Linked DNA regions of Homo sapiens: region 1 is linked to region 2. Evidence: promoter capture Hi-C in 16 types of primary human blood cells and fetal thymus (Javierre and others, 2016). All regions are on one chromosome and are shown on one strand. Each heading gives the region's core, a stretch centred on a gene start or on the middle of the fragment in contact. The rest is flanking DNA. Distances are from core to core; before and after follow the strand shown.

Region 1 (6,642 bases), core at 3,491-5,990, 1.3 Mb before region 2:
CATCCTGGCTAACGGGCTGAAACCCCATCTCTACTAGAAATACAAAAAATTAGCTGGGCGTGGTGGCGTGTGCCTGTAGTCCCAGCTACTCAGGAGGCTGGGGCAGGAGAATGGCATGAACCCGGGAGGCAGAGCTTGCAGTGAGCTGAGATTGTGCCAATGCACTCCAGCATGGGCAACAGAGTGAGACTCCATCTCAAAAAAAAAAAAAATATATATATATATATATAATATATATAACATATATATAATATATATTATATATATATTATGTGATGATCAGTTTGCATTAGTTCATTTATAGTAAGCTATACTATTGCACATATATTCATTTAAGAAAAGAGAGTCATACAGTTCACAAAGATGGAAGAGAATCATTGGAGGTTAGCTGGTTGTCTTACAGGTAGCCTGACCCTGCAGTTGATATTTGTGACAGAGATGGCGCAAAATGCTTAACAAAATCTCATTTCATTTTCCTTTCCTGGTTACATGGAAAGACTACGTTTTCCATCCTCCTTTGTGGTTAGGTTGGGGACATGTGACTAAGTTCTGGAAGTGGGATGTAAGCAGAAGTGATGTAAACCACTTCCAGGTCTGGCCCTTAAAAGTGAAAGCAGTGATTGGTATCTGCGAAAGTTAAATGTATGCTGGCCCCATGACGTAGCACATCTACTCTTAGGTATATGCTCAAGAAAAACAAAAGCATACGTCTACAAAAGTCAAGTAAAAGAATGTCCCTTGCTGGGTAATTCATAGTAGGTTCAAACATGCAACAACACAAATGTCCTCAAATGAAAAAATTGTGCTATATTCATACAATAGACCCAATATAGCAATAAAAATGAATGAACTATAGCTACATACGACAACATGCATAAGATCTTGAGTGAAGGAAGCCAGACACAAAAAATATTCAACGTATGCATTTGTTACTATAAGCTTTAGGAACAGGCAAAATGAAGCTATGATGCTAGAAGTGAGAATAGTGGTTACCTCTGTTTGCAGGTGTATTTACTGGGAAGGGGCACTAAAGAGCCTTCTGGGGTGATGGAAATACTTTTTTTTAATCTGCATAGCAGTCTCAGGGCAAATAGTAGTCTCAGTAAAGGCAAATTTAAAAATTCATCAAGCTGTACACTTAAATTTTGTGCATGCTGCTATGCAAAAGAACTAAAAATTATGCACACATGAAAAATCAAAGAAGCAAGGAAAAAATTAAAAAAAGTGACCACTGACGAAGGCCCAGTGCAGATGGAAGAGGCTATATTCCTGAATCACTGGTTGCCCTTGCCCTGAAGAACTGGCCAGTCTGCTTTGGAGTTTGTGTAAACACAAAATAAATCTTTCTTATTTTAAATTCTCTGAGATTTAGAGTGTATGTGGTATCTCGGCATAGCCTAACCATTCTTGGCTAATACAGAATTTATTGCCACAAACAACCAGGGTAAAAAACCTGGCTTTGGAAGCATATCAGGGAGGCTCTTCCTTTCTCAGGCTAAGTGATATAAAACAAGCTTATAAATGAGTGCATAAATCAAGCTGCCAATTTATTAAATAACAATAGAAAATTAAAACCTGTCATACAAACTAGGATATCTGTTACCTAATATATAACCATTCTGTCTCTCAAGACAGACCTGCATGGGAAGCCAAACTGTAATAAAAGTTTGTTTTATTCTCAGAAAGAAAACATTAGTTAGATGAGTCAGTTATTTAATGACATCTGTCCAGGAGAAGCTATGCATCCCATTTCATAGTTAATTCCTGAGGTCCCTGGGCTGCAGTTCTCATTCCCAGGCATGCACCTGAATTGCCTCAGGGGGCTCCTCGTTTTTTTTTCTTCCAATTCTATCAATACACTTGTCTTCTACAGATATGTTATTGCATAAGTCTACTGTTTTTAGAGAGATGTGGCTGGCCTCTAAAGCATTCCTTGTACACATCTACATGTTGATTTTGTGTTTTTCCTCTCAAAGAATAATCATAAATCTTTTACTTTTTTATTATTTATTTATTTATTTATTTATTTATTTGAGATGGAGTCTTGCTCTGTTGTCCAGGCTGGAGTGCAGTGGCACCATCTCGGCTCACTGCAAGCTCCGCTTCCTGGGTTCACGCCATTCTCCTGCCTCAGCCTCCCAAGTAGCTGGGACTACAGGCGCCTGCCACCATGCCCGGCTAATTTGTTTTGTATTTTTAGTAGAGACAGGGTTTCACTGTGTTAGCCAGGATGGTCTCGATCTCCCGACCTCGTGATCCTCCCACCTCAGCCTCCAAAAGTATCTTTTACTTTTACATTCTGTGGTTGGAGTGGTAGGGGTTTGGAGAGAATGGTGTCCTTAGCTGTAGCTTCCAAGTACTGGTAACATCAAACTAATATAGATGCTGAGAATTCTAGACAGTGTATGTACCTGAATATTTTGTAAGGCCACTTGAGAGTTTTTTCTACAATCTTTGAAGGCTTGAAGGGAGGAAACTGTTAGGAAAGGCTGGAGAAAAAGGGATCCCTGTTATGCAGTGGCAGAAAGTTTGGCAACACTGTTGCATGCTGAAATGCAGAAAATAGAAAATATATCTAACAAACTGGTGTATTTGCAGTTAAGGAAATTTCCAGACAGACTGTTGAAAATGCCAACTGATTAAAAAAAAAAAACCTATGTGGAATAAGATGTAGAGAGGTGAGATATAAAAGGAACAATTTCATTTTTAAGCAAAATTTAGAGAAAATATACACAGTCTGGGAACTTTGGGTTCAAAAATAAAACTGCTTTTCACTTCCAGCCTCTCCAGATGGTGAAACAACTAAGGCATTGCCTTAAGGGGAAGGTACAATCCAGGGTGCAGCTATTTAGATTTTTTGTAAAGACTGTACAAAGATTTAAAGCCATTTTACCTAGACCATTTCAGCTAGACAAAAGCACTTCTAAGTGTATAAGGGTGTTTTCCATCAGCTTTCTTACTCTCAGCCCAAGACGGAAAGTGTTTGTCTCAGAGGTTTGTGAGTGTGGCTTTTTTTTCTATTGGAGTGGATTATAATTTGATATATATGAAGTCCCCAAAATCTTAAAGAGAATTGTATTGGCAGACACACTGCCTACTTGGACTGAAAGGGCATATGTATCTTTTAATACTCCAGATTTGAATATTAAAATTTATATTTACATATTAGAAACTCAATATTTTAAATAAAATGACGTAAGGAAAAACCTGAAGTTATGTTGCAACAAAAATTAGTAGAAAATTAGAATTATGGCTGGGCATGGTGGCTCATGTCTGTAATCCCAGCACTTTGGGAGGCTGAGGCAGGTGAATTACCTAAGGTCAGGGAGTTTGGGACCAGCCTGGACTACATGGTGAAACCCCGTCTCTACTAAAAATACAGAAATTAGCCGGGTGTGGTGGTGGGTGCCACTAATCTCAGCTAGTGAGGCAGAAGAATCACTTGAGCCCAGGAGGCGGAGTTTGCAGTGAGCCGAGATCGTCCCATTGCACTCCAGCTTGGGTGACACAGCAAGACTCCGTCTCAAAAGAAAAGAAAAGAAAAGAAAATCAGAATCATATGTAGCTTTGTGAAAAGCTTGGTTACTGACTGTTGCTGGAATCAAGAGCTACTACAGTGTCATACTTCGAGTTTGCCGTACTTTGCCATTGTACTTGTGCCTGATAATTATTTCTACAATGACTGCATGTAGATCTAAACTAGATTAGTGTCGTTAAATCCTCTGCATTAGATCTTAAGAGCTCTTCCATTCTTTTTCGTTGACATCTTCAAAACTAGAATCCTACAAGAGCAACAACTTTGTGTTTTTTTTTTTTTTTTCATTCTTCCATCACAAAGAAAGGGGCAACAATTTTCATCTTGGCGTTTCTTCAAAGCCTTTGAATTCCATCATAAATTGCCAGATTAGTTTTCTTCATCCACTGTGCACCTTCTTTGGAGAAACTCTTTGCTTCACCTTGTTGATGAACCCTAAAGCCCTCCCTGCGTTTTTTTAATGAAAAAGAAGAAACAATGAAGCCCCCAGAAAGTATCCAATCAAGCCACTGTCATAGCCAACCTAAAAGAATAAATGACCCATGCAGATGCAATGTTTAACATTATCTTTAAACTTAATGGTGGCATGAAGAGAAGGCTTTCTTTTAAAAAACAGCCTGCTATATCTTATAATACCATATAAAGAAATTTACAAATGTAAGCTACTGGTTTAACTGCATACTGCTCCATTTTGCAATTTTTTTTGCATCCTAAAGCACAGATCATCTCCCCTGAGGATTTATCAATGCCTTCCTGTTTTGGAATCTCCATAGCAGCACTAGAAAAGATAGAGTATCCTTTCTTTTGAACTTGGGAGTTTCCCTGAAATCACCCCTTTGCCACCCAGCTCATCAGCATTGTCCCCTTTGGCACCATCCCCTTTTTCTCAAATTTCTTTATGCTTCAAGTCTCCATTTAACAGTTAATTAGGACCAGGTGTGTTGGTGCACACCTGTAATCCCAGCAGTTTGGGAGGCTGAGGTGGGTGGACAGCTTGAGCCCAGGAGTTCAAGAGCAGTCTGGGTAACACAGGGAGACCCTACAAATAATTTAAAAACATTAGCCAGGTGTGGTGGCGTACCTGTGGTCCCAGCTACTCAGGAGGCTGAGGCAGGAGGATCTCCTGAGCCCAGGGGATATAGGCTGCTGTGAGCTGTGATTGCGCCACTGCACTTCAGCCTGGGTAGCAGAGTGAGACCATGTCTCAAAACAAACAAAAAACAGTTAACTAAAAGAAACCACCTGGTTTTAATTGTAATTTTAAAATTTCCTTATTTATTAATGTGTAATTGCTGGGCCACATAGTAAACATATTGTTTATTATCAGGCATGAAAACTATATTGTGCTATTACATTCAGAAGCAACTGAGAGTTAACAATCATATTAAAAATTTTTTTTTTTTTGAGACGGAGTCTTGTTCTGTTGCCCAGGCTGGAGTGTAGTGGCACCATCTCGGCTCACTGCAACCTCCGCCTCCCAGGTTCAAGTGATTCTCCTGCCTCAGCCTCCTGAGTAGCTGGGATTACAGGTGTCCACCACCATGTCTGGCTACTTTTTGTATTTTTAGTAGAGATGGAGTTTCACCATAGGCCAGGCTGGTCTTGAACTTATGACCTCAGGTGATCCACCAAGCTCAGCCTCCCAAAGTGTTGGGATTATAGGTATCAGCCACCGTGCCCAGCTCGTATTAATTGTTTGGTGAATAAGATGTTATTTGTATAGTATTGTACATCTTAACATGATCATTTTTTGTTAATATTTGATACTATGTTTTAAATACTTGTTAAGAATTTTTTGGTTGATATGTAATGCATTTTATTTTTTCCCATTTAAAACTAAGTTCCTATTCAGCATTTTCTTGTGAAAGGATCACAGATATTCAGGAATGGATTATTGAAAAAAAATAAGCCTGCACTGCTATTTCTGTAATTTTTTGGATAAGTTTATGCTGTGTTTTTGATCTTCTTAGTTTCTGAATTGGAGATTTGAAAAAAATTGTGATTATCTTGTTCCTATTCTACCATTGTATATTGGATGTGTTGAGGCGGATGATAACTTTATCATGAGATCTGCATCTGGTCCTGAGGAATATTCTGGACTTTGGCTAGGATTCAGCAACTGCATGGAATTTTAGGTTGTCTCCCTTGGAAAAGGGAAGGTATGTCTATCTGTAGAAAGAATGGTGTGCCCGGATATTTGGGTAGCCAGAGACATAGAACTATGGCAGACACTGCTAGTTGCCTCTAATATCTGTTTTTTCCATTTTGCTCAGTAATAAAACCTCAAATGTTAGCTGGGCATTTGTCCCATTAATTAAAAAAGATTGTATTCACCATCCTCTCTTGCAATGAAGTGTGGCCATGTGATTAAGCTTTGTCCAAGGAACGTAAGTTGTAGTAGTTTGTATGGATCTTCTGGGAAGTTTTTTTAAAAACAGGAAGTATGCCCTTTTCTCCCCGCCCCCGCCCCCCCGTTTTTTTTTTTTTTTTTTTTTTGAGATAGAGTCTCTCTCTGTTGCCAAGGCAACAGTGGTGTGATCTTGGCCCACTGCAACCTCTGCCTCCTGAGTTCAAGCGATTCTCCTGCCTCAGTCCCTGAGTAGCTACGATTACAGGAGCGTGTCACCATTTCTGGCAAATTTTTGTATTTTTAGTAGAGACAGGGTTTCACCATGTTGGCCAGGCTGGTCTCAAACTCCTGACCTCAAGTGATCCACCCGCCTCAGCCTCTCAAAGTACTAGGATTACAGGTGTGAGCCACCGCGCCCGGCCTCTCTTCCCCTTTTGCTGGTCTTCCTGGCTAGCATGTTGATGTCATGTTATTTTCTAAGTTAGGGTGGAAATCACAGGTAGCAGATGGCATAGCAAACTGTCACAAAGAGGCTGGGATCCCTAATCGTTATGGAGCCACCATTTTATTCTAGGACTGCCTACCTTTACCTGAGAGAAAGATACTTTTATCTTTTTGCCATTGTTGTTTTGGACTTTTCATCTGAGTATTTCTCTTTTATTTTCTTCAAACAACTACACCTATCTGATATTATCTTGTTCAGTTTTCTTTGTTATTTTCTGTCTTCTCCCTCTAGAATACTAGCTTCGTGAAAATA
Region 2 (6,316 bases), core at 2,270-4,769:
ATTTAATATTTAGCTTACAAGAAAAGTTCCAGCTTGTGAAGAACAAATGAAATGGGCTGCAATTTGTGCTAAACTATTTTAACCCTGAGTATGTTTGCAATTGGAAAAAGTGTGTTATGAGAATGAACAATAGTTCTTTCCTAATGAGAGAAGGAAACAAGCTGGGTTGACTTGGCTACCTTTCACTTTAACCAGCCTAAGGGAGTAACTCCTAGGTTCTCTCTTTCTGTTAGTTTAGAAGAAAAAATTACTCAACATATTTAGTACATTTAAGATAATGAATCATTTAGGCCTATCACTACCTCAGCCAACAGGTAGTGATAGGAAGGACAGCATAGTAACTGCAAGAAAACAAAATGTGTAATCTCTCTATCTTTCCTACAGATTTAGAACAAAGCCAAATGACTATGGCAACATTTAGAAATAAAGTGGTAGTAATAAGGAAAATAAATTAAGAATTTAGTCATACTTACCAAAATGTAAATTTTAAACATAATTTATACATATTCAAATGTAGCACTGGTATTTTGTAAACCTACTAAAATCATAATTTTAAATAAAGTGGCAAAATTATACCAACTACTACTACTCTTGGGAAGAGTGGTGTCAATTCCGGTCATCTTCTTAATCTAAAATTAAAATTCTGAGGGTCTACTAATCAGAAGAGGTTTCAGATATCAAATCATTGAAAATGTAAATCCAACTTCCAACAAAACTAACCTTAAAAAAGGCAAACCACTTGTAGTCATTCAACACAATCTCAAAGCCTTGGTTGTAAATGATGGTGAAATGGCCAGAATTGCCAAGGTCATCATATGCTGTATCCAGCTTCTGAAGGTACACCACTACTTTTTTTTCTTGTGGTCCTAAAGAAAAAAAAAAAAAGCACAATAAAGGAAAATTATTTGGATTTCAATAGGGGAAAGAATCCCCCAATTTCAATTTTAATTGTGCTGCTTTCCTTTCATGCTACCCAGTTTGAGCACAGTCTGCCTAGTGAAGAAACCAGAGGCTCCATCTTGTTGCCTCAAACAGTTCCTGCTCCGAGGCAAGACTGTGAAGTTAGGCTCTAAAAATTTGAGATAATGCAAGCAGAAGCAGTGGCTCACGCCTGTAATCCTAGCACTTTGCGGGGCTGAGGTCAGAACTTCAAGACTAGTTTGGGCAACATAGTGAGACCCTGTCTCTACAAAAATAATTTTTAAAAATTCGCTGGTTATGGTGGTGCATTGCCTGTAGTCCCAGCTATTTGAGCGGCTGAAGCTGAGGTGGAAGGATTGCTTGAGCCCAGGAGTTGGAGGCTGCAGTGAGCTATGATTGCACAACTGCATTCCAACCTGGGCAACACAGTGAGACCTTGTCTCAAAAAAGAGAGATATGCTATGCAGCCCAGCAGGCAGGGAGACCCCCAAAACTACAGTACCTTTCCAGAGCATCCCAACACTGAAGAAATTTTTCCACTGAACAAAAGGAGAAATGGGGAATGTTGAAAATTACAGGCTTCCAGAAACGGAGAAAAGGCAAAATGCTAGTCAAAAGTGGGAAATGCAAGAATAAAAGGTATGACAACAAAAAGATAAATAAACAGACTATCAGATCCTAAGGAAGACAATGTGCTAAGCCCAGGAGAAGACACAAAATGATCTATTCGGAGAAGAAATGGGGTACCTTTCTCCTCAAAGGCTCTACAGTTTAGAACCTCATAATCTGAATCCTTCCAAAGTTTATTCAGCAAACTAGAGGTCTGTATCCTATAAAACCAATTAGTGCTGATAGGAATGATACGTTTAACCTTCATAGATGAGGGCTCAGACCTGTGGGTGCCTTTAATTACTGAATTAAGGCCAAAGGTAATTTTATAGGCAGAGCCTTCCTGAAAATGATTCAGCTGTGTCCATCTGGAGAGTTGTGTATTTTAAAGTTTTTCCATGTTTGAGAGTAATGCTCTGACATGGGAGATTGCATGTGACAGGGCAGTGCAAATCCTGATCTCTTTCTGCCCCAACCTTCAAACTCAAATTTAAAAAAAAAAAAAAAAAAAAGGCCAGGCGTGGTGACTCCCGCCTGTAATCCCAGTACTTTGGGAGGCCGAGGCGGGCGGATCACGAGGTCAGGAGATGGAGACCATCCTGGCTAACACAGTGAAACCCGTCTCTACTAAAAATACAAAATATTAGCCGGGCGTGGTGGCATGTGCCCGTAATCCTAGCTACTCGGGAGACTGAGGCAGGAGAATCGCTTAAACCCGGGAGGCGGAGGTTGCAGTGAGCCGAGATCCCGCCACTGAACTACAGCCTGGGTGACAGAGCAAGACTCCATTCTCAAAAAAAAAAAAAAAAAAGTTACAATGTTCAGGATTATGAAATGCTATACAGTCAGTTAAAAAGGTATTTCTTTAGTAACAAATGACTTAATCTTTGTTCTGTTGACAAGAAAATTATAGCTGATTTTTTACTGACTCTGCAGAAGTCACAGGCTGTAAGAGGGTTTGGGTAGACCACAGTGTGACTCTTCTAACTAGTGATTGTCTTTTTTCCACCCCACCCCCTTCACTAGGTTCTTTGTTCTAGGGGTAACCATGTTATCTGAAGGCATATGGAATATCTCCAGTATGTTCAAACACTAGGTATTTATTGAGAGCCTTCCATGAGCCAAACATTGTGCAGACTCTGGGCATTTCTAATTACTAGGTTCAGAGTTAAGTTTTCTTTGTTATTAATTTTTTAAAAAATTTTTACCTCCTTGCAATGCATGAAACAATGCAGAGTGGTACTAGCCGTTTTCTAGTACTCATCAACACCCGCTCAAACCAAAATCGCTGGGCAGAAAGTCCCTTTCCCACCATCTAACAAAAAGAGAAAACTTCATGCTATATCCTCGAGAGTCTCTGAGCTCATCTATCTTCACTAGTAAAATAGTAATAAAAAATAAAAATAAATTTTAAAAATAACGCTACCAGATCGGACTGGAGAACCAAACGATTGCAGTTCCCAAGTCTCTCTCAAAGCAAACAAAATTAAGCGGGAGGAATAAAAAAGTTCTTGATCAAAGTGTTGAGTCCCCAAGATAACCAAGAAAGTGTGGAGTTAGAAGTTCTCAGCAGATGAACTTTAACTTCGCGAGCCTGGCGGGGAAGAAGGTCCCCAAGGGTCCCCGAATCCAGTCAAGATGCTCTGGCCACCCACAAGCGTCTGCCTGGGGGGAAGCGGTAGTTGGCGTGGCGCTGCGTTAGGGGCTCAAGGGCAGAAAGGACGACCCGGAGGACTGCCGAGCCGGCGGCTTACCCATAACCGAGCAGTTGACATCGCGCTGGGAACCGCTGGAGCCCACCTGGAAGACCCAGGTGCCCAGCAGGTCAAGATAGGTGCAGTTGGCAGGTGTGTCGCAGCGCACGGCGCCGTCGCCGGAGAGAAGCAGCAGGAGGGCGGCGAGCAGCAAGGAGGGCCCAGCACCCATGCTGCAGGGAGCTGAGAAAAGAGGTGAAGAATTACCAGGAAGCCGAGCGCTGCGGGCTAGCGGTGAGTCCACCACGAGGCGCGCGCCTTGAAATAGCTACGCCGGCCCGGAAACCCGTGGGCGGGGTCACTGAGCAGCAGGGGATTGGGGGTTGGGCGCCAGGCGCGTGCGCGTCTCTGAAACGGGGACTTGGGAGCGCGCGCTGCCCCTCACTTGGCTGCAACTGGACCCAGAACTAGGGAAGAGGCCAGGGACAGATTTTTTTTTTTTATTTTTATTTTTTTTGCCGAGGGACGTTTCAAAATTTTGCACGGCCAGGGTGACAAAAAGAGGATTTAAGAGCCACAAGCGGTCCGCACATGACCCAGACTTCGTTCCTGTGCGGTAACGTAGGGAGAGAAGGAAAGGGTGTGGGGGGAATAAGGGAGTGGGTCAGGTGAAAGAGCGCGACAGAGGGAGAGATCTAGCAAGTGGAGTTCTGTTTTACTTGCTATTCTTCCCCTTTAGTCTTTTTTCTCAGGTCCACTTGCCTCATAACCAACTTCTTGTTTTTTCCTCTGAAAAACTTCGCTAGCTAACATCAACTATTCCAGCTGTTTGAGAACTTATCTTCCTTCCGTTTTCCAACTCTTCCTACTTTTTTATGTGCTTGATTTTGTTTTGTTTCCTGGTAAATGCTGTTTGCCTGTTTGCATTCAGCAGAATTCAGTTTTTGTGCAAACCTGCAGTTTTGATGTATTAGCGTTGTGGGGGTTTTCCCTCTGGCACGCACACACATGGCGCTCTCAGAGATGATATTGCTCAACCCCTTTTATGTTACAGAGGAAAAGCAAGAGGCCCAGAGAGAGGAAGCGGCTTGCCCAGGGTGAGAAGGGTGAGGAAGGAAGCTAGCCAATGGGAGAAGGCTGGTCTTATGAACCGTTCTAGTGTGTCAGTCTGATCGCCAAAAATTATTAGGTGGCACTATTTCCAGGTGCCTCCTTGCTCAGTTTAAGTATCACCCTTTTCCGTAAGAGCCTCCCGTTCTTTCCTGGCTTTTGTTGGTAATTGGGGCTCCTTTCTCCCACTGAGCCTACTAGGTGTCAGGCCCTGTGGACACAGTGATGAACAAGACAGACCTGATGTGTCCCCGTTTTCTTTGGGATATGAATTTTTGCCCCCTTTGCACTGGTCACAAATCAATATTCATATGTCCATTTTTTTTCCACCAGATTATAAACATTCAAAGAGAGCAGGTCCAAATTATTCACTTATATCTCCCTAGATTCTGGTTTATTCAGAAAGTGTCCTTGAGTGTTAAAATAAGTGTACTTAATATTCTTATCTTGGTTGCCAAGCTTGAAAGCCAGTTTCAATGAGGCAAAAGGAGTTGTCCTTGAAAGTTCAGAGGTGAAAATACTCTTCAATGGGGGCACAAATTTCCAAAGCCTGGGGCGGGGTTGGTGGCGGGGGGTTGGGGAACACCTTGCTTTTAGGTTTTATATACCTTCTTAGAATTGAAAGCTGACATTGTATAATTAAGCTAACACACTATTTATTTAAAGATACCCTGACAGATTAAGCTTCCCTTCCTGAATCTCTAGGAAGGTGTGTTACTGATTGTTAAAACATTAAATTTGTATTAGGTCATCAATATTGAAGAGCCAGTTTAGGTGGAAATTTCTTTGATGAATGTAATCAAAGCAACACACTTAATTGTAAAGAAAGTTTAAAACAGTCTTTATTCAATGATTGAATAATAGAAAAAGATCTTGTGGACCTCTTAGTCTAATGGATTCATTTTAAAATTGGGAAATGGAGATTCAGAGAGTTAAATCACTTGCTGAATGTCATATTGCCACTTAGTAAGATTTAAGAATGAACCTCAGGCACATTGATTTTCAGTTTAGTTTATTTCTACTAATCTAATAATTCCCATACTGTTCTCTCTCAAAAATAACTACTAACTCTCCATTCCACGCACACACAAAAAATTGATTCTCAAACTGATCAGACCCCAAATCCTTTACTTTCTGAAATGAAATTAATATATAAACTGCTTACACACTTAATAAAAAGAAATGTAATGCCAAATGTAATATAAAGAAGAAATCAGATATTTTAAATATATTTCTAGTATAATAAGTTATATCCCATCATGTAAAATGTTCAAGTATGACTGTGTTGGAAAACATAATGAGGCACTCAGATACTTGCTCTTCACACTTCTGTAACCACCCAATGGATTCACCTGGCCTGCTGCCTAGACAGAGCCAATTTATCAAGACAGGGGAATTGCAATGGAGGAAGAGTAATTCATACAGAGCCGGCTGTGGGGGAGACGGGAGTTTTATTATCACTCAAATCAGTCTCCCCGAGCATTCAGGGATCAGAGTTTTCAAAGATAATTTGGTGGGTAGGGGCTTGGGAAGTGGGGAGTGCTGATTGGTTAGGTTGGAGATGGAATCATAGGGGGTCTAAGTGAGTTTTTCTTGCTATCTTCTGTTCCTGGGTGGGATGGCAGATATGGTTGAGCCAGATTGCTGGTCTCAGTGGTGTCAGCTGATCTATGGAGTGCAGGGTCTGTAAAATATCTCAAGCACTGATCTTAGATTTTACAATAGAGATGTTATCCCCAGAAGCAACTTGGAGGGTGGGAGGGTGCAGACTCTTGGAGCCAGAGGCCACATGACCCCTAAACTGTAATTTCTAATCTTGTAGCTAATTTGTTAGTCCTGCGAAGGCAGACTGGTCCCCAGGCAAGAAGGGAGTCTTTTTGGGAAAGGGCTATTATCAATTTTGTTTCAGAGTCAAACCATGAACTGAATTACTTCCCAAAGTTTGTTCCACCTATGCCCAGGAATGAAAAAGGACAGCTTAA

What was found. Contacts are between HindIII fragments. The CHiCAGO score rates a contact against its expected background, and 5 or more counts as called.
Region 1: a contact is called between a fragment that was not itself captured here and the fragment with the promoter of CTSC in region 2, in 1 of 17 cell types (non-activated CD4 T cells). The highest score is 6.0, in non-activated CD4 T cells.

Annotation. Positions count from the first base shown.
Region 1 is chr11:87,030,256-87,036,897 of GRCh38, forward strand. The region is part of intron 1 of LOC105369422 (a long non-coding RNA gene); the gene reads right to left. Among named protein-coding and RNA genes, the nearest start is that of TMEM135, 4.4 kb to the right of the region's middle. The HindIII fragment of the contact is 2,330 bases long and covers 3,576-5,905 here.
Region 2 is chr11:88,334,217-88,340,532 of GRCh38, forward strand. It overlaps CTSC (cathepsin C), which reads right to left and starts at 3,520. Exons shown (of 7, transcript NM_001814.6): 1 at 3,285-3,520; 2 at 721-866. The coding sequence starts at 3,456. LOC101929174 (a long non-coding RNA gene) reads left to right here and starts at 3,668. Exons shown (of 5, transcript NR_188511.1): 1 at 3,668-3,840. RefSeq lists an enhancer at 3,236-3,515. The HindIII fragment of the contact is 10,462 bases long and covers 1-4,791 here.